7 separate regions of the Homo sapiens genome follow, and regions 2, 3, 4, 5, 6 and 7 are each linked to region 1. The links are contacts of gene promoters, found by promoter capture Hi-C in blood cells and fetal thymus (Javierre and others, 2016). All regions are on one chromosome and are shown on one strand. The core of a region is centred on a gene start or on the middle of the fragment in contact, and the rest is flanking DNA. Distances in the headings are between cores, read along the strand shown. Region 1 holds the start of SRSF11 (serine and arginine rich splicing factor 11). Region 2 has its middle 6.7 kb from the start of FUBP1. Region 3 has its middle 11 kb from the start of ZZZ3. Region 4 overlaps FUBP1 (far upstream element binding protein 1). Region 5 overlaps ZZZ3 (zinc finger ZZ-type containing 3). Region 6 has its middle 3.6 kb from the start of USP1. Region 7 overlaps FUBP1 (far upstream element binding protein 1).

Region 1 (2,823 bases), core at 22-2,521:
GGTTCTGGACTGACCCAGGAAGCTCACAACTTTGAGTGATACATGTCAATAATAAATACATGTATCTTCTGTTACTTAGCAGAAAAGAGGAAGCCCTAACAGCTTGCAGAAGTCATAGCAGTGAGGGAAGGAATGCTCTACAGAAGATGACAGATAAGATGAGTGATGTTATTAATAACTTGTGTATCGGCACAGAGACATTATGGTTTTTGTCATGTTTGGGGCACTACAAGTCACTGGACTACACACTGGATGCAGTTGAGAGAATAGTTCAGATGAGGTTGAAAACAAAAGCAAGGATTTTTTTAATAGTCAAAAGCTTCAAAATTATTTTAAGCAAGAATATGTATGTGAAACAAGTTTTTCTTGAGAAATTGCAGTATTTTCTTTAGAAATATATACTTGAATATATTTAAGTACTATAAACTGTGTTTCCAAAGTCAGCTATTGTGGAATTGGCTGGGTGCAGTGGCTCACGCGCCTGTAATCCCAGAACTTTGGGAGGCCAAGGCGGGTGGATCACCAGAGGTCAGGAGTTGGAGACCAGCCTGGCCAACATGGTGAAACCCCATGTCTACTAAAAATACAAAACTTAGCCTGGCGTCGTGGCAGGCGCCTGTAATCCCAGCTACTCCCGAGGCCTAGGTAGGAGAATGGCTTGAACAGGGGAAGTGGAGGTTGCAGCGAGCCAAGATGGTGCCACTGCACTCCAGCCTGGGCGACAGGGCGACTCTGTCTCAAAAAAAAAAGTCATCCATTGTGAATGAATGTACAAAACGCTTATTAATAAGTGTAATATTAAAATATATCTTTTCTGAAAGTTTTAGTGACAAAACAAATTAGTTACAGATTTAATGTTACCAAAATTCATGTACATTGAAAATTTCGGGACATTTTATACTGGTGGTGGTGGGGTGGCATCTTAGCTTGGGTTTAAATATCATTAGTAATCGGATAGCTCTGTAGATGATTATCAGTATATAAAGACATCGTGAGCAGTATTTAATAAGAAGAGTTGCTGAAGTGACTTTTGCAGGAGGATGAATGCTTTTTTTAAAAAAAAAGTTTATACGTGCCTCTTCGCTCTTCCAAAAAAAAAAGAGAGAAGAAAAAGAAGAATAAAACGAGAGACGAAGGTGGATAACACCTTTCTCTAGACCCCGGTGCCTCTCATTTCTCGGGCTGCAGGCGACGGCTGCTGGGCCTGCGCGGGGTGGAGCCGACGCTGACGCGCCCTGCGCCGCAAAGCATTGTGGGAGCTCGGGCCCGCTAGTGTCGTGGTTGGAGGCGAGGTGGGGCGGCCGTTTGTTTTCTCGTGGTCTCGAGCTCGCGCGCTCTCATCCCCTCCCCCGCGGCGTGCGGCGGGGCGGAGAAACGGCGGCGGCGGCGGCGGCATCGGCAGCAGTAGCAGAGGCTGTAGCATCGGACACCCTCCTCTCTCCCGCAATCCGGTTCCTCTTCCCCCTCCTTCTCACTGTTTGTTGTGTGTTTGATGTGTTAAAGCAGGAGCGAGAACCCGAGCAGCGCCATGAGCAACACTACCGTCGTCCCCAGCACTGCAGGTCCGGGCCCCAGCGGCGGGCCCGGTGGCGGAGGTGGTGGTGGCGGCGGAGGCGGCGGCACCGAGGTAATCCAGGTGACTAATGTCTCCCCGAGCGCTAGCTCTGAGCAGATGCGGACTCTCTTCGGTTTCCTAGGCAAGATCGACGAACTGCGCCTCTTCCCGCCGGAGTGAGTATCGTCCACCATCACTGTTCCTGCTAACGCCGCCTCAGCCTGGGCCTAACACACACAATTTCCTTAGGCCCCTGTCGCTGCTTCCCCGGGCCAGGCTGCTTGAGTGGCTGGTGGCTGGTGGATTTACTTAAGACGGTTGTGTTCCAGGCCTACAAAAAAATGCAGAGAGGCAGGGCCAGGGCTTTTTGGAATTAGGAAACACTGGCTGTTATTCTCGGGAAATTTTTTTTTTCCGCCTTAAATTGTGCCAACGTGGTCGTTTGGCTTTGGGGACTTAACGCAAGACTAACCGCAGTCTGTACGTCGTATATAGGTTAAATCCCTTTTTTAAAAAACTGAGTATTTGTTCTTTGCGTTCTTGGAAGAAAGGTAACAAAATTATTCATGCCTGTGTTAATTTGGTGTTAAACTTTGTAGGTTGTTCACTTATTGTTATTGCTGTTATGTGGTTCTGGCCCAGCAATATAATTCAAAGATCATATTCTTTTTGACAGACGCTTAGTTTAGTGTGAGCCTGATTACTTAATTTGTATAATGTCAAAAAACGGGTTATAAACCAGAGATTTTCCTTTGTTTGAATAATATACAGATTTGTGATATTTCACAGTTGTTCTTGAGAAGGATTTTTATAAATGTTGAAATTTGAATTAGAGTGTATGACTTTTTATCCTTTTTGTCTCACTTTTATTTTGAAAATTATTTCTATCGCAAGAATATTAAGTGGATGAATTGTAAAGAAAAAATAGTTCAAAGAAGCTAAGAAGTAAGATAAAGTGTACTACTAAAACAGACAATTGGAATAATAATAATAGTCTTGTGCTTTTTGGAAGACTTATTGGTGGAGAAGTGACAATTCAAATGTCATTATCAGTAAATATCATATATTGAGAATTTTATGATGTCACTTAAATACTAAACAGGAAATTGGAATCCTCTAAGAATCTACTGTTATGGTACGTGTAACCATTAACTTTCTGCTCAATAAAATAATTGACAAAAGTTTATCATAATGAGATATTTGTTAAGTATTAGCATATTTCATCACTTTCCACTTAAAATACTTTCACAAGATTATTGGTGTTTTCA
Region 2 (2,756 bases), core at 196-2,695, 7.8 Mb after region 1:
TTCTTTCTTTCTTTCTTTCTTTTTTTTTCCAGAAAGCATCATAGTTGATTCTACTCATCAAGATTTGAAAACTACCCTTTTACACAAAACATATTTAATATTTGAGGAATTAAAGTGAATTAAATTTTGTTTCCCTGGCTAGATTGTAGTAAATGTTATGAATACAGAAATTTTGTCTTCTCCCTTTTCCCCTCCTCTGTATAAAAGAGGGCTTGTCAAGGACCGCGTCTTATTCTTTGGTTTGCCCAGTATGCTTTTATGTTGGTAAAAGTTTAATAAATATCAAGTTGAATTCTTTATTCCACTTATCATTTTCCTACAAAGCTACATATGATTATGAATGTGGAGGGCCTTTGAGGCCAGATGGCACTGAAGGGTAGTTTCACACAAACTTTTCTTAGAATATCAGTCTTGGAAAGACCTTGAAGGTAATCTCGCCCATTTGTTTCATTTTATATTGGAGGAAACCATAACACAGATTGCTGAGTGCCTTCTACAAAGTGCCAAGATTAATTGCAGAGCCAAGACTAGATTTCTAATCCAGTGCTCTTTATTTTGTGAACTGTCTTCTATATGAAGCATCGGTGTTTGGGTTGGAGGTTTTCTGCTTCTTAGGTACAAGAGGAAGAAGAATCTGTACAGAACCAAAAACATCTTAATTTTTGTAATCAGGATGTCTACCTTTACTGACAACATTTACTGACAACATTTCCTTCTGAAAATAGGTTATTGAAAGATCAAGGATCTTTGCCAGTGAAATCCTTAACTGGAAGTGGGTGGGTACAAGATAGAAAACTCATTTGGTATAACAATTTTGTTGTTTTTTAGTGGAACCTTGCTTCTCTGTTCTGACATTTCCATGTCTCTATTTATAGTAGTGATCTCTTTGGAATTTGCCTTCTGATTCCATTTGTTCCTTTATGTTGCTTCATATTAACTGATATTCTCACTTCATTTAAAAAAAATTTGAAGGGACATGTACTTAAGAAAAAGGAATTAATTTTTTTATAAGAAATATCTGGAGGTACTATTTTTCTATGGTTTATCATAATCATTGTTTATGCCAGGTTATCTAATTGTAGCAATAATATAAATACTATTTTTTCAAGCAAGAATGTTAGTTTTAAAAAATTTATGTGCATATTAAGCTTTAGACACCTTTTATCCAGGACAGATATTACCTTTAGATTCTTAACAACCTTGCTCCTTAACTATGCACTTTGATATAAATGAAGATTGAGAGGTTTTAGTTAGAGCTTTTAAGTGGTAAACGGTCAAGGGCAGGAGCTATCTTATTTACCTTTGAGATGACAATAATGCCTGGCATCTAGTAGGTCCTAATTAATCTATTCATTTATTCAATTCAACAAAAATTCTGGGCATTGTTCTAAGTGCTAGAGATACAGTAGTAAACAAAATAGACATATATCTCACCGTCTTGTCTTGAGCATGCTAGTGAGTGAAGGTGGATTGAAACCATGGATCACTTTGCAGAGACTCCCTATTGTTTTCAGACAATTATTTGTATCAGTCTAACCAATAATATCCTGTAGCTAATTAAGCAATGGTTTGAAGAGTCAGAATGGGAGAAGCTGAATGATCAGATAGATCATTCATTCATTAAACATTTAATTTCCTAGTGTATGTTAAATTATTTGAAACAAGCTAGTGAATGTGAGTCATTGTCATCCCAATTGTCAGCCTGATTCTTGTGCTCTGTTTATATCTTGGGGTAAAGACTTCAAGCTTCTGGCCAGGTTACAGCCCGGGAACTTCATCTCAGATCACATACCACTGAATCCTAAGTGCATAAAATAATGTGTGCCATGTAGTAAATATTACTACATTAATCCTTAACTACTCGAAATGCAATTTCCTCACTACTTATGGCCACAGCCTGCATCTAGTCTTCATCCAGACAACTCAAACAATAAAAATCTTCAAGTCTGATATTCTCCTCAAGATGACCTCTTGTCAGTTTGTTTCCTAATGTACTTCTTCCGTTCCTCTAGTCTCTTGACACTTCTCTTTTCTTTCCATCTCTTACTTGCTGGCTTTCCTTCTTTGCCATTCACGTCAGTAATTCTCAACTCCCACTCCCCTTTGTCTTTTAGTTGTGTCCATTCTTTAAATCAACAACTCTTAATCAGTTCAAATTGACTTTGGAGTCGGATGAACTTCAAATCACCATTTGCTACTTCAGTGACCTTGCCAAATTCTTTAACCTTTTTTGAGTTTGTTTACTCCTTGTCACCCTAAGCATTGTTTTGAAAATTAAATGAGATTATTGTATCCAGATACTTTTGACCACAAGTAATGAAAACCCTTATTAAATGGCTTAAATAATAAAAAATCCAGGGGTAGAGTGGCTCTAAGGCTGGTTGATGAGCAGCTCAACAATTTATGAGGTACCCATGTTTTTTTCATCTTTGCCTTCTACCACCCTCAGCTTCTTGACTTTACTCCCCTAATGATTGCATAATGGTTGCCACAGTTCCAGGTGTCATGCAGTCATGATTGTTAAATGGAAGGGGAAAGTTTCTGCTACCAGTGTCCCTACCCTCCACCCCTGCCACAACTGCCAATCTTATTAACCTTGTCCTGACCAGAGTTGAGTCACAGGCTTACTCTATCAAGTGTCATACTGGCTTAGAATAATTAGGATTCATCTCAGGGGTGAGGGAGAGGCCCCACTTTCCTAGTAATAGTTATTCTTACTACTGCATTTGTGAGTGCTAGGACTCAATCCTTGTGCC
Region 3 (2,786 bases), core at 217-2,716, 7.5 Mb after region 1:
GGAGGGACTGACGGATACAAGACTACATTTAGGTAAAATGTACACCGCTCGAGTGACTAGTGCACCAAAATCTCAGAAATCACTGCTAAAGAACTTATCCATGTAACCAAAAACCACCTGTACCCCAAAACTATTGAAATTTAAATATAAAAAGTTATCTTGCTTCTCTTCTCTTCATAGATTCAGATTCAACATTTTTGACAGGACTCTTACATAAATAATGTTGCATCCTTAGAAATTACACATTTTGGGCCTAGCACGTGGTGGCTCACGCCTGTAATCCCAGCACTTTGGGAGGCTGAGGCGGGTGGATCACTTGAGGTCAGGAGTTTGAGACCAGCCTAACCAACATGGTGAAACCCCGTCTCTACTAAAAATACAAAAATTAGCCAGGCATGGTGGCGTGCACCTGTAGTCCCAGCTACTCGGGAAGCTGAGGCAGGAGAATTGCCTGAACCTGAGAAGCAGAGGTTGCAGTTAGCAGAGATCACGCCACTGCACTCCAGCATGGGCGACAGAGAGACTCCATCTCAAAAAAAAAAAAAAAAGAAATTACACATTTTGAAAAGGAGAAAGAGAATGATGAATTACATCACCGAGTGCCAATTATGTTGTATATATTATATATAATACACATAATTATCATAATCCTATGATTAAGTGTGGCAGCCATGAAGATTGCTGTTCAGACCCCTCTTCCAGAAAGCACTTGCTGCGCAGCTGAGAGGAAGAGGGTTGGGTAACAACCTCTGTTAGCTCCATCAGGGTCAAGCTGAGTGTATTCTCCTTTCCAGGTAGCCACTAGTCAGTGACAGAACAAGGCCTAGTGACAGTACAAGGACCTAGTCATTTCTGCCCAATGCAGGGCTCCTCCAATGGGTAATCTTAGCTCCATATTGCCTTATGGAGACCTGGCAGAGAATTTGTCAGGTCTGCATCATTCTGGTTACTCCTCCTGCTCAATCCTGTTTCTCTCATTTCTTTCATCTGTGTTATTCCCCAACAAATCATATGCATGCATTAACACTATCTCAGTGTCTGCTTCCTGGAAAGCCCAAACTACAACATTCTCATTTAGCAAATGAAGAAAACTGGAAATCAGAGAACTTTAAATATTGTTCCAAATCATAGTTAATATAGCTACTAGGACTTGAATTTAAACAAATGGACTTCAGGGCCTCAAAAGTAATCACCTTCATATTATAAATCAAGACTCTTTTTTCTTTTTTTTTTTAGATGGAGTTTTGCTCTTGTTGCCCAGGCTGGAGTGCAGTGGCACGATCTTGGCTCACTGCAACCTCTGCCTCCCGGGTTCAAGCAATTCTCCTGCCTCAGCCTCCCAAGTAGCTGGGATTACAGGCGCATGCCACCACGCCAGCTAATTTTGTATTTTTAGTAGAGATGGGGTTTCACCATGTTGGTCAGGCTGGTCTCAAACTCCTGACCTCAAGTGATCCACCCACCTTGGCCTCCCAAACTGCTGGGATTACAGGCATGAGCCACCACACCTGGCCTATAAATCAATAGACTCTTAACACATATAGGCTCTCACTAGCCTTTGATTGCAATTTTCCTAATTCTCAGCTTATTTCCAGGAAAATCATCCTTAGAGAAACTATTTATTTTATCCCACATCTGTCAACACATAGATCAATTTTTAGCTATGAGTCTATGGTATTGCTAGACCTTTACTGAACATATTATGTATTTTGACAATTATAATGTAAAAAAAATTGGCCGGTCATGGTGGTTCACGCCTGTAATCCCAACACTTTGGGAGGCCAAGGCGGGTGGATTGCTTGAGTTCAGGAGATCGAAACCAGCCTGGGTGACATGGCAAAATGCTGCCTCTACAAAAAATACAAGAATTAGCTGGGTGTGGTGGCATATTCTTGTAGTTCCAGCTACTCAGGATGCTGAGGTGGGAGAATTGCTTGAGCCCAGGAGGTCGAGGTCGCATGTGAGCTGAGATTGCACCACTGCACTCCAGCCTGAGCGACAGAGTGAGACCCTGTCTCGAAAAAACTATTAAAAAAAAATATATATATATATATATATATATAAGCTCTTAGGGACCAGTATCTTTATCTTATTATATATCCCAATAACAGACACTACTGATATGACTGATACCACAACCAGTTTCAAAGGAATTCATTGGGGATTACATTATGGTAAATAATTTTCTGACTACTAGTCTCAATTTAAAATAGGCTCTTTATTATATAAAGCCATGAGTTGGAGTCCTGTATCTGCCACTTCTTTGCTGTATGACTTTGGGCAAACCATTTAACCTATATCATAGAGTTGTTAGGAGGATTAAATATAAGGAAATAACTTTAGTAAAATGACTGAAACATTCTAAGTTTCAATAAATAACAATCATTAAAATCAAATCTTTTTTGACTAACCACTAAATACTAGACAATACACTAAATTCTGGTGATTCACAAAAAATCAGTAACATTCAGACCTTGAGGAAGATCATATTTTACTATAGTAGAATCATATTTTACTATATATTTTTTAAAACTTCAAATAGATCTTAAATGGCTGCTTATTAAAATTCATTTCATTAAACATCAAAATTTTACTACACTGATTACCAGCCCAAGCAATAAAGTCAGACTTTACAAAAAATAAAACAAATTATCCAGGTGTGGTGGTGCACACCTGTGGTCTCAGGTACTCAGGAGGCTGAGGTGGGAGGATCGCTTGATCCCAGGAGATGGAGACTGCAGTGAGCTGTATTCAACGCCAGGCACTCCAGTCTGGGTGACAGAGCT
Region 4 (2,700 bases), core at 98-2,597, 7.7 Mb after region 1:
ATTAACTACCAAGATAATTTGTTTAAAAGATATATTTTACAATGTTTATAAACAACTAGTATCAAATTACTAGTTTTAGTATTAAAACCATTTTTTATATTAAAAAATAAAACTATACTTCTCATTTCTAAAAGAAACATCAAACCATAGAATTCTAAGTATCACCACACTAAGCTGTCTTAAAAAAAACTAAAAACATTGTCAAATTTTTGTTTAAGTGCTAAATAAGTCAGTTCAGTTTCAATCTAAACTATACATTGTTTCTAACACTAATATCCAATGCATTCAAATCAACTGGCTCACCTTTTCTGCTTTCCATTTATTTCAGACTTAAGATCAGCGTCATTTAAAATAATGCTTATAGTATCAGTGAAGGCTTATGGTAATGAATAAAAGAATTCTCATGAGACAGAAACAATGCCCCAATATCTATTATCATCAATCTATCTGTATTTTTTTTTATAAAAATGCAATCTACAACTAACCAAAACTCAACAGGCTCTCAAGTTTCAATGAGCCCCTTTATATTATCAATTGTACATACCTATCATTGACTATTAAAACATAACATACACATAAATGTGGTGTAGTAACTATGTAACTTAAGAAATTTAACAGTTCATGGAACATTTAAGATCAAGTGAATAGCACTTTAAAATGAAAAGTGATCAAAAGCAGGTACATTACACCCTATACCATATTATGTATGGGAATACATTTCATATTTCTCAATTATGATTTGCCAATTTTACCTTCTACATTGAGCCCTTCTATGGTCCATGCTCATCGGCTCACCAATGGCATACACTCAAAGGATTCCTCTTTATGGGTAACTATCTCAGGACCTGATTTTATGAGCTATGATTTGGTGCTTGCAGCATCTTCAGCACTGTGTGTGAAAATGAAGGCAGTATTTTTGAATATTTTTCTTTGTTGCAGAGATAAGCAGGAGTTTTAAAAGGATCAGCACATTTTAGAAATCGAATAAACAAAACTGATAAGATGCTGCTTTCATACATTCAACTTAACTCAAAATATGTACCAGTTAAAATCATCTATAAAAACACACAAACATTTTAAACTGGCAAAAAAATTAAATGCAGCGTCAGTTATTAAAATATTATTAAATCAGAAAAATACTGATTGCTACAGATTATGAAAGGTTATTTGCTATACAGTTAACATTTCACTGATGCACATGCCTTTTATCAAAACATACTGCCTTATAACTTTTTCCTTCTTCAGCATATAACTTTTGTCTAAGAAAAAAATCATAATAAAATTCTAACCCATAATATCCTTACTGAATTATTATAGTTTAAGAATAAGAAAAAAATAAAGAAATTATAATTTTGGAGGGCAAAGAAATTTTCTGTCCATCATATAAAACAGATTGTGAAGGCTGTTGAAGTTTCTAAACAAGTGATTTCCTAAATCTTGAAAACTGTGTAATTGTCCTTTCTTAATATTAACACTTCTATATTTGGGGAAAAAATACAAAAAGATTTGGATGTAGTTCAATTACTGCAGCAATCTACTCATCATTTTCTTGTCTTAATAAAAAAAAAAAAGTAAAATAAAAAACATTACCCAGAAATGTAAACAGTTGCTTTAACAACTTACAGACTTTCCACTAAGATGGTAGCATAAAATAACAAAATACATTTTGGGGAAGCAGTAGCAGATTGCCTTTGAATACACAACCACAAAAACCTCACAGGGACAACATTAATGTATTGAAATATTTATTTATATATGTCCTTAGGTTGTGCTTACCTGGTGCTTTTTGCAGCAGAACCTAAGGTGGAAGGTCTGGGAAGGCACTGTGAAGTATAAATAATTGCACTGTTTGCAATTAATAAAGATTTTAAACCTTAAATGAATCAAAATCAACAGCCTCCAATTTGTGAATTATGATACTGAATTCAACTGAACTACTTCTTCAGTTCAATTAATAAATGCACCACTTTCCTAAAAGGTCATCTATAAAACAGTATCATGCAAAATACTGCAATTGTTCACGTCAATACCCTACTCTTAAAGATAACAAATAGCTAACTCCTTAACTATTAAACTTCATACTAGAACTATATATGCAGATCTAAATAAGGGTAAGGGAAGTCACTCTAGGTTATATAAAACAATCAAAAACATTTCAAAATATCTACAATGAACTGTACTGCTATTTCCATCCTGTAGGTAATCTCAACATTTATGTCCTTGTACCTCTTCCTTTAAAGTATATTCAAAACAACAAATGGTGCTCTCCACCAATGACAAAATATATATTTATGAAATGTGTTAAAATTGCTACATTGCTCATTATTTGCAAACTGAAATCCCCTTCTGTCTGATACATTTCAAGACTTTCATATTAAATATAGAAGATATGCATATTTTACACTGAAAAACAATATTTTAGGAGCACCAGTGAATAATACTATTCAACTTTGTTAAGTATCAGTTTTCTTTAGCTATAGCTAAAGCATATAAAAAATACTTACCCATTAAGCTCACTTTAAAAAAAATACAGAACTATGTATTATTCTATGTTAAATTAAGAGGCAGTTATGGTTTTCCAAGATATCAGCACTGTATTCCAACATAATATTCACACAACGTATGGCATTTGCATTATGTGGAACATTGACAAAAAGATACTGTTGCAGTTCATCAATTTGTCATTCTGATGTACTTACA
Region 5 (2,985 bases), core at 149-2,648, 7.4 Mb after region 1:
TTGATCACTGTAACTGCAGTTAAGAGAATATCTTAGTTCTCAGAAAAAAAAAGTCTGGTGGTATCCTGGATCTAATTCTACCCTGTAGAACAACTCATTACAGCCCTGCATTACCTGAAAACAACTGTCCCCTTCCCTCCTTCACTCATTCCTGTCAAGTCTTCCTTCTCCACAATAAGCACTCTCAATTCCTTCAAAGGTTCTCATGGGTTACCCTCCTCTTGACATATCTATCTTTTCATTTACTTTTCTTAAAGTGTAGCTTTCAGAAATAAGGCCAACATTGTAAATGTGTCCTAACCAACATGGAATGAATATCATATCCCTTATTATGGACAAAATCCTATTACTGCAGCCTGGTACTTCATTTGTTTTTTCTTTTTTAAGCAACTCACCAGTTGGATGTCTGAGACTATATAAAACTAAACTCCTAATAATATACAATCAGTAAACCCTATTTTTTTTTTTTTGAGACGGAGTTTCGCTTTTGTTGCCCAGGCTGGAGTGCAATGGCGCGATCTTGGCTCACCGCAACCCTCCACCTCCCGGGTTCAAGCGATTCTCCTGCCTTAGCCTCCTGAGTAGCTGGGATTACAGGTGCGTGCCACCACGCCTGGCTAATTTTTGCATTTTTAGTAGAGACGGGGTTTCATCATATTGGTCAGGCTGGTCTCGAATTCCTGACCTCAGGTGATCCGCCCGCCTCAGCCTCCCAAAATGTTGGGATTACAGGTGTGAGCCATGGCACCCGGCTAATAAACCCTACTTATTCTATCACCAAAATGTCTTGGAAAAAAAAAAAAACAAACTATCTACTCTTTCTGTTCTATTGTTATTGCTCCAGCTCAGGCCATCATCATTCTATTTAAACAACTGTAGTAGCCTAATTAATCTCTCATTCCAATTTACTCTTTATTTGCCCACAAATATATCTGTCTTAATAAACACTGTCCTGAATCTGATTTTTCAGTACCTTAAAGAAGAATGGGGAGGGAAAGAAAGGAGATGACTTTCTCCCCTCTTCAATTCCTAGAAAACTCTTATTCCTCAAAGGCCAATTCAATGATCCATCAGAATTAACTACTCTCTCCTTTGCTCCCATAATGCTTAATAATCCTATCATAAAATTACAATGTATAGTTTGATATATCTATATTCCCCATTCAATTATAGGCTCCTCGAAGGAATAGAGCAATACATTTTTTATTCTCTTAGTACATACAGTGCCTTAACATTAATTGAACAAAATTTTACTCATGTAATTTTTTCTATCTGAATTCCATATTTTTTTAATTCCACACTTTTAAGCAGCTCACACTATAGGTTTCTGCCTGTAGTTTCAGACAGAACTTACAAGTTGTTTTAGTTATCCTTGCCAGCTAAATTGTTCTGACATTTTATAAGCACAACTGTACATTTATTCAAAACATTAATGAAAATATTAAAAATGGACAACAAAAAGTACCTTTTTAGATACTTCTCTCAAAGTCTGACATTAATTCCTTCTAACAGTATTTAAGAAAGTTTATTTTACACTATTAATGAAATGTTCTTAATGCTGATGAGCTAAGCCTGTACTTCTCTGCCTCTTCTCCAAGGCATACCTAGGAAAACAATCTCCAAAACTACTGGTTTCCTTTTTAAAAATAAGACCTTATGCTGTTTCTAGTCTTCTGGCATACTTTTTGTTACAACAAATTAACAAAAGCTATCAATACCTCTCAGTTCCTTAATGTCTTTAAATGATCTAAAACCTGTGCTATCAGCCAGACAGAAAATGGATTCCTGGAATCCAATCAAGTGGTGAAATAATCTGGGTGAGGTTTACAAAACTTGATCTGGCAATAGAGTTAAAAAGCAATTACAAAACAATTACAAAAGGTCTTAAACTTCAATTCAGAAGAAACCAACATCAACTTAGAGTTCCACTGTTACCATACAGACAATTTTTACTGACAGTTCATTATGTCCATCTGTGACATGAGAAAAACCACCTAGACAAAGACAGCTTCCAAGGCCAATGTCAAGCTGATAAACAGCCTGTCAAGAGATGGTAACTGAACTGTGGACATAAAGTATGTCACAGGAATCTCAACTTGCTGAAGACAGCAAAACTGTTCCCGAAGGTAAGTGACTGCCCAACGTCCATGATTAATTAGAATATTGAAATTACGTATATCAAACTCATGATACTAATACTGTGTGGTTTAAAACTATCCTAAATATTTTTAAGTTCCTATAGACAATGATAGTTTCTAAATTTAAAATAGTAACTGACTTCACGCTTATGATTTTAAGTTTAAAAGTGTATGAATATTTAGCTTGGTTAATAAGAATACTGGAATGTTTAAGAAAATTTGTGATTCACTGTCTCATTCATTAAATTTAAAATTTTTATATTTACCAATTATAACTCAATAAAGCTAGAGAAAATATAAAATTTTAAAGTTTTAAAGTATTTGGGAAGCCAGGTGTGGTGGCTCATACCTGTAATCCCAGCACTTTGGGAGGCCGAGGCGGGCGGATCACCTGACGTCAGAGTTCAAGACCAGCCTGGCCAACATGGCAAAACCCAGTCTCCACTAAGATAAAAAAATCAGCCAGGCGTGGTGGCACACGCCTGTAATCTCCGCTACTCAAGAGGCTGAGGCAGGAGAATCGCTTGAACCCAGAAGGCGGAGGGTGCCGTGAGCCGAGATTGCGCCAGTACACTCCAGCCTGGGAGAGACAGCGAGACTCCATCTCAAAAATAAATAAAGTATTTGGGAAAATCCTACTTGTTGAAATTTACTCCACAAGGAATAGTGCTTAAAACTAAAACAGTATATCAAACGTATATACGGAATGTAATTAAGTTAAGCAGCAGTAGCAGTGGTAATAGCTAATATTCACACTGCAATGTTCCTAGGGCTCACAACCTTGTTCCAACACTTTACAGTATAAATTCATGCATTCTGGCACGTTGGCTTATGCCTGTAATCCCAG
Region 6 (2,971 bases), core at 364-2,863, 7.8 Mb before region 1:
GGATTTTTTTTTAACCTGGTAAGGGAGGCATAGCAGAGAATGCTATTTGTCCTCTAATATCCATTCTATCCTTCTTCCTTAATATTATAACCCCTGATTTTTAGTTGGGTATATAGCCACCCAGAATAATGTTGTCAAATGACTAAGTTCTGGCCAATGGGCTATAAGTAGGAATGGTGTGTACAGCTTCCAGGAAGTATCCTTAAAGAGAGGGGACCATGGTCATCTCTGTCCTTTTTTCTTTCCTGCATAGGACTGTAGACATGATGGCTGGAATTTAAACAGCTATAAAGGACCGAAAGGTAGAAGCCACATGTTGAGAATGGAAGAAATTAATTAGGTCCCTGATGGTCACAGAACCACCATACTAATCTAGACTGCCTACTTCTGCATTATGTATACATGATAAAGACATGAATATTAATTTTAGCTAAGGACACTTAAAAATATTCTGTTACTTATAAACAAACCTATTCCTATCGGATGCAGAGTTTGGTTCCTATAAATTTGTGCTACACATAACCTTAAAAGAAATGTGGTTTTTAGTGGAAGCATTTGGGCAGTGGGTGGTAAAGACTCAGATACTGCAAGATGGAAAACTGGTGACCTTTGTTCTCCAGTTGCCAGACATTTGGTAAACCTGTTGCCAGCTTTAGAAGACAGATCACACGCCAATCAAAATTGTGGCACGAAGGGAAATGGCTGGAAATATCTATAAACTTGGTATTTGCTGGCTTTTTCTTGACACTTTAAACCAAGTTCTATGAGATATGAATTCAGGCCAGAAGTAACCAATTTGCATGTAGAAATGGAAAAGAATACAGTTTTGCTAAAGGAGAAATTCTGCTGTAATCCAAGTGGATTAAAAGTCTCATAATTTGGGCGGGACGTGGTGGTTCATGCCTGTAATCTCAGCACTTTGGGAGGCCGAGGCGGATCACGAGGTCAGGAGTTCGAGACTAGCCTGGCCAACACTGTGAAACCCCGTCTCTATTAAAAATACAAAAATTAGCTGGGCGTCGTGGCAGGCACCAGTAATCCCAGCTACTTGGGAGGCTGAGGCAGGAGAATTGCTTGAACCCAGGAGGTGGAGGTTGCAGTGAGCCAAGATCATGCCATTGCACTCCAGCCTGGGGGACAGAGCAAGACTCCATCTCAAAAAAATAAAAATAAAAGTTTCATAATTTGAAGATTTAAAGGGCGGAAAAAAACCACACTTCTTCTATACCTTTAGACTGAAGTACAGTTGGCCCTCCACATTCATGGGTTCCATATACATGGATTCAACCAACCACAGATCAAAAAATCTTATGAAAAAGGTACACAAAGTTCCAAAAAGCAAAACTTGAATTTGCCACGTGCCAAGTGTTAAATACTATGTTAAATCCATGTGAATGATGTGTAGGCATTGTATTAGGTAATTAAGTAATCTAGAGATGATTTAAAGTATAGGTGGGATGTGCATAAGTTGTATGCAAATACTATGCCATTTTATATATGGGACTTGAGCATCCTCGGATTTTGATATCCATAACGGTCCTGGAACCAATCCCCCATGGATACCAAGGGATGACTGTACACAGAAACAGTGCCTGTGAAACTTTGGAAGGAAATATGCCTGGCATTTACCCACACAAGACTGACAAATATAGGATTGAGAATGCTGTGAACCTATTAAATCCCATTGTTTCCAAAGGGATTAGCTGTCATTAAGAGTGGGGTAACTGGGGAGCACACAGAAACTGGGAAAAAAGTTTCGGGGCTTAAAAACTCATCTAGGCAAGAACTGTGGCTAGAATTTCTCCCACAAACAACTGACTGAAAGCAAAAGAATGAGAAGCATATTAAATTTTTACATTAATCATATTGCCAGAGACACACCAAACTTCTGCTATTGCTGTTGACAAGCACAGTTGTGGAGGTGTTTGATTTTTCTGAAGCAGCATTAGCAGAAACCTCAGTGTCTAGCCACTTGTCCTGTGGGCCTTGACAGACGGGACGTAGGATATGCATGGCACTGGTGCAGATCATAGTGGGTATAGTGTGGTTCTAGGGTCAGCGGTGCACGCAGCTTTCTGATGGTGGTTTCCTAGGCATGGCAGCAGCAGTGTGATTCAGAGACGTCATTTCCTGATCATAGAAGAGTCATTGCTTCCTTGGTGGCCTGGTTCTGGGAAGACTTTGGGACTCATTCCTGAAAAACTAATCTAGAGCCTATTTAATCAACCCTCCCAAGTATTCAATATCTTTGTGTTTATACTAGCTAAAATGGATTCTATTTTCCGCAAATGAATCTTAACTGATACCACACATTGTGTACAGGAAGAATAGTGGCTGCAGACAATAGGATCTCAGGAATATGGGAAAGTAGAATTGCTTATCTGTTCTCGTAGAGTTTGAAAGTAGCAATAATTATGCTAGTACTAGAAAATGAGACACTGCCACTCTGTGGTGCACAATGGCTAAGACTGACCTATATACATTTTCTAATCTTGTCCTTGTGTATTTCGTGATCTGCTGGTTCAACATCTGTTTGTACGTTAAACACCTCAATCTTAATATTCTAAGAACGATGATCCTTCCCATTGAGCCTACTAAGACCCCCATTTTAGCAAGGACCAACACTGAGTTGCTCAGGTTAAAAAAAAAATCGTTACTCTTTGTTTTTTTTTCTTTTTTCGGGTGGGAGGGTGGAGGGCAGGGCCTCACACTGTTGCCCAGGCTGGAGTGCAGTGGTGCATCTCGGCTCACTGCAGCCAGGGGATCCTCCTCCCTCATCCTCCCGAGTGGCTGGGACTACAGGCACGTGCCACCACGCACGGCCAATTTTTGGAGTTTTTTGTAGCGATGGGTCTTGCCATGTTGCCCAGGCTGATCTTGAACTCCTGGGTTCAAGCGGTCCACCGGCCCTGGCTACCCGACCTGTTTTTTCTTACATTATCATACAGCCAATCCATCAGTAGAGCTCGTT
Region 7 (2,928 bases), core at 255-2,754, 7.7 Mb after region 1:
TTATATGTACTCACCTGGCTTAAACTGAATGCGAACACCAGCATCATTTTGTATTTTTTTGATCATCTCTCCATTTCTTCCTATTACAATGCCAACAGCAAATCTTGGAATGGGGACCTTATGTAAAAAAGACTAAGTATTAAGAAAGCTAGCTTCTCAGGGTTTAAAGTAAAAAAAAGTATTTTAAAAAAGCGCCATTTCCTGAAAATCTGCCTCAAATCATAAAAGTACATATAATTCTATATTTATAGTAAATAGGGTAACAAGATATATAGAATTCTGTATTCTAAAGTATAAAGGTGAAATAAAAGGATAACAATGTTAGAGCTACTTAACACAAAACAGAAAACACTATTATATTTATGAATTAGCATACAACCATTTCTGAATGGGTATTTTTACTTACATCTATCCCTTCATTTCCTCCTATTCTTGACCCATACTCATTCCGAACTTCTCTGAAACCGCCTTGATCACGAATTAACTCTAACACCATTTCCTTGGCTTGCTAAAGCAGAAAAAGTTAGCTAATTTAGAAAGCATGTCTCAAAACATTTTAATTATTCATGCATATTTTGCCCAACCCCATTCAACCCACTCTTTCTTTATAAAGTATAAAGTTAAGTTTACTTGAACTTTATATGGGTCTCCTGTAATCCTAAGAGGTTTGTCAGCACCAGTGTTCTGCGGCCCGTCTTGAATCATAACCATTTTAACTCCAGCCCGTTCCTGTTACAATCATAGAAATAATATATATTAACAAAAGGAAGTGGACAAAAATGGGCATCAAAACAGATCAAAAGTAGCCATTTCACAAAAATAACAATACCTGAAGCTGTTTAATAGTTTCTCCCCCTTTTCCAATGACTAATCCTGCCTTGCTAGCTGGAATCATGATTTCTTGAACTGCATTTCCCGGTCCATCGCCATGATGGAAGCCAGGAGCTGGTCTTCCTTTTTCAACAATCTGGTCCAGTAACCGTTTTGCTGACCTGTTAACAAATTAATATTTAAATAGTAAGCTGTAGCATACCCAAGCTTATTCAAATAGAGAAATATAAAACAATATAACCAAGTACTCCTCCTATCCCAGTTCAGGATTAGGTGCCTTGATGCTAACTTTAACAATGCTTTTACTTTTAACTGAAAGAAAATGCCATCAAGGGTCAAAGATTGAGAGATTATGCAAAAAAATTTTCTAGATATACAATTTTTATTTTTAAGAATAGTCCAAAATTTCCAAGAAAGAACTCTAATGCTAAAGTTATCTCAGAATTAAACTGATTCTTCCAAGAACTAAATGATTTATTTACATTTTTAAACTACCATTTTGCTTACTCATATGCTACAATTATTCATTCAACAAATATTTAAATATCAACTATGTGCAGGTGCTATTCTAGGTAATGGGGTAATAGCACTCAAAGAAACAGGGTTCCTGCTAGAGTGGCTTCATTTCATTAAATAAGTAAAAATAACATGTCAAATGAATAACACATTATTTGGAAAGTGCCATAAAGAAAATCAGGCTGGGGGAAGTGGCTCACGCCTGTAATCCCAGGACTTTGGGAGGCCGAGGTGGGTGGATCACGAGGTCAAGAGATTGAGACCATCCCGGCCAACATGGTGAAACCCTGTCTCTACTAAAAAAATACAAAAATTAGCTGGGTGTGGTGGCATGCACCGGTAGTCCCAGCTACTCGGGAGGCGGAGGTTGCAGTGAGCCGAGATCGTGCCCCTGCACTCCAGCCTGGCAACAGAGCGAGACTTCGTCTCAAAAAAAAGAAAAGAAAAAACCTAGTAATGAGGGAGAACTAACAATGCAGAAGAAAGTACAACTGCAAGCTGAACCTTCAGTAGGAAGAAAGGGCTGGCTTTAGGCACTCGAACACAAAAGGAAAGCAATTACCTGAGTACTATGTGAACAGAGGAAAAATGAAGGCTGGTAGGTTTAGTGGTAGGGAAAAAGAAAAGCTTCTTATCATTTGCTTCCATTTTCTCAGTAAATAAGCTTAAGTGGGAGAGCGTGGGGTTAGATGCTGAAGATTTGGAGGTGGGGAAATACAGTATTAAAGAGCCTGGGAGAGGAGTGGAAAAGTGAATGGAACTAGGGAAATGCAGGCAACACAACAGTCCACTTGAGCTTAATGTCTGAGTTTTAAGTGTCACCAGTCGACCTGACTGTGCATTCTTCTCCAGGCTACACGTGGCTTTACAAGTAGAGACTGGAGTAGATATGGAGTTGTTTTAACCATTTTCTGTGTTTAATGATTCAGATGATGAACCCCACCTGAGAAAGGCATGAGGCATAAACTTCAAAGGAGTTGGAGGACTTTGAGGGAAGGTGGCAGCGAAACCACAGTGTAAAATAAAGCAGTAACAAAGAGAAGAGACAAAATTCAAAGAGTTCTGCTGTTGTTACTTAAGTAGATTTTTAAGATTTTTCAAACTTACTGGACAGATTCAGGTGTTCCAGTTAACATACAGGACCTTTCTGGAAGGCCACCACTGTCTACAATTTAAAACAAACAGATAACTTCAGGTCAAAAGATTAAAAGTAGCATTATTGTTACTAGAAGGCTTAAAAAAAAAAAAAAGCTAGTTTTCTAGTCACACTGAAAATACCATGAGAATGTAACATTACCAGGAGCTATCTGTATTTTGCATCCAGATTCCTGTTGTATGCGTGAGATCTGTTCACCTCCTCTGCCAATTACTAGTTAGAAAAAAAAAAATTTTTTTTTTGGTTGAAAGATTCTAAAGTATGTTTTGATCATGTTTTCAAAACTTTAAAAATCAAGTTACTTACTGAATCCAACCATTCCATCTGGAACTTTGTATTCTTCTGTCATTACAGATCTGCTAAGAAATAACAGAAAGCACCATTTTCCTTCAATGAAAGATACTTTGTTTACAAATAAAAGATAA

What was found. The method cuts DNA at HindIII sites, captures the fragments that hold promoters and counts their contacts. A CHiCAGO score of 5 or more calls a contact.
Region 2: a fragment that was not itself captured here is called in contact with the fragment with the promoter of SRSF11 in region 1 in 1 of 17 cell types (total B cells); the score reaches 5.6 in total B cells.
Region 3: a contact is called between a fragment that was not itself captured here and the fragment with the promoter of SRSF11 in region 1, in 1 of 17 cell types (naive CD8 T cells). The highest score is 5.6, in naive CD8 T cells.
Region 4: a fragment that was not itself captured here is called in contact with the fragment with the promoter of SRSF11 in region 1 in 4 of 17 cell types (total CD8 T cells, total CD4 T cells, naive CD8 T cells and 1 more); the score reaches 15.8 in total CD8 T cells.
Region 5: a fragment that was not itself captured here is called in contact with the fragment with the promoter of SRSF11 in region 1 in 1 of 17 cell types (total B cells); the score reaches 9.4 in total B cells.
Region 6: a contact is called between a fragment that was not itself captured here and the fragment with the promoter of SRSF11 in region 1, in 4 of 17 cell types (naive CD8 T cells, non-activated CD4 T cells, total CD8 T cells and 1 more). The highest score is 12.4, in naive CD8 T cells.
Region 7: a contact is called between a fragment that was not itself captured here and the fragment with the promoter of SRSF11 in region 1, in 6 of 17 cell types (total CD8 T cells, naive CD8 T cells, monocytes and 3 more). The highest score is 12.3, in total CD8 T cells.

The regions. Positions count from the first base shown.
Region 1 is chr1:70,220,109-70,222,931 of GRCh38, forward strand. It overlaps SRSF11 (serine and arginine rich splicing factor 11), which reads left to right and starts at 1,272. Exons shown (of 12, transcript NM_001350605.2): 1 at 1,272-1,731. The coding sequence starts at 1,529. RefSeq lists an enhancer at 1,166-1,711 and a silencer at 1,607-1,656. The HindIII fragment of the contact is 2,724 bases long and covers 318-2,823 here.
Region 2 is chr1:77,984,442-77,987,197 of GRCh38, forward strand. It overlaps a transcript of DNAJB4 not described here. Among named protein-coding and RNA genes, the nearest start is that of FUBP1, 6.7 kb to the left of the region's middle. The HindIII fragment of the contact is 598 bases long and covers 1,147-1,744 here.
Region 3 is chr1:77,692,524-77,695,309 of GRCh38, forward strand. No RefSeq gene overlaps it. Among named protein-coding and RNA genes, the nearest start is that of ZZZ3, 11 kb to the left of the region's middle. The HindIII fragment of the contact is 7,698 bases long and covers 1-2,786 here.
Region 4 is chr1:77,944,754-77,947,453 of GRCh38, forward strand. It overlaps FUBP1 (far upstream element binding protein 1), which reads right to left. Exons shown (of 20, transcript NM_003902.5): 20 at 1-2,700. Among named protein-coding and RNA genes, the nearest start is that of FUBP1, 33 kb to the right of the region's middle. The HindIII fragment of the contact is 3,321 bases long and covers 1-2,700 here.
Region 5 is chr1:77,663,296-77,666,280 of GRCh38, forward strand. All of the region lies in intron 1 of ZZZ3 (zinc finger ZZ-type containing 3), which reads right to left. Among named protein-coding and RNA genes, the nearest start is that of ZZZ3, 18 kb to the right of the region's middle. The HindIII fragment of the contact is 7,724 bases long and covers 1-2,985 here.
Region 6 is chr1:62,431,991-62,434,961 of GRCh38, forward strand. No RefSeq gene overlaps it. Among named protein-coding and RNA genes, the nearest start is that of USP1, 3.6 kb to the right of the region's middle. The HindIII fragment of the contact is 3,951 bases long and covers 1-2,971 here.
Region 7 is chr1:77,964,240-77,967,167 of GRCh38, forward strand. It overlaps FUBP1 (far upstream element binding protein 1), which reads right to left. Exons shown (of 20, transcript NM_003902.5): 5 at 2,810-2,862; 6 at 2,645-2,716; 7 at 2,455-2,512; 8 at 830-992; 9 at 631-729; 10 at 407-508; 11 at 15-117. Among named protein-coding and RNA genes, the nearest start is that of FUBP1, 13 kb to the right of the region's middle. RefSeq lists a silencer at 1,377-1,579. The HindIII fragment of the contact is 936 bases long and covers 1,037-1,972 here.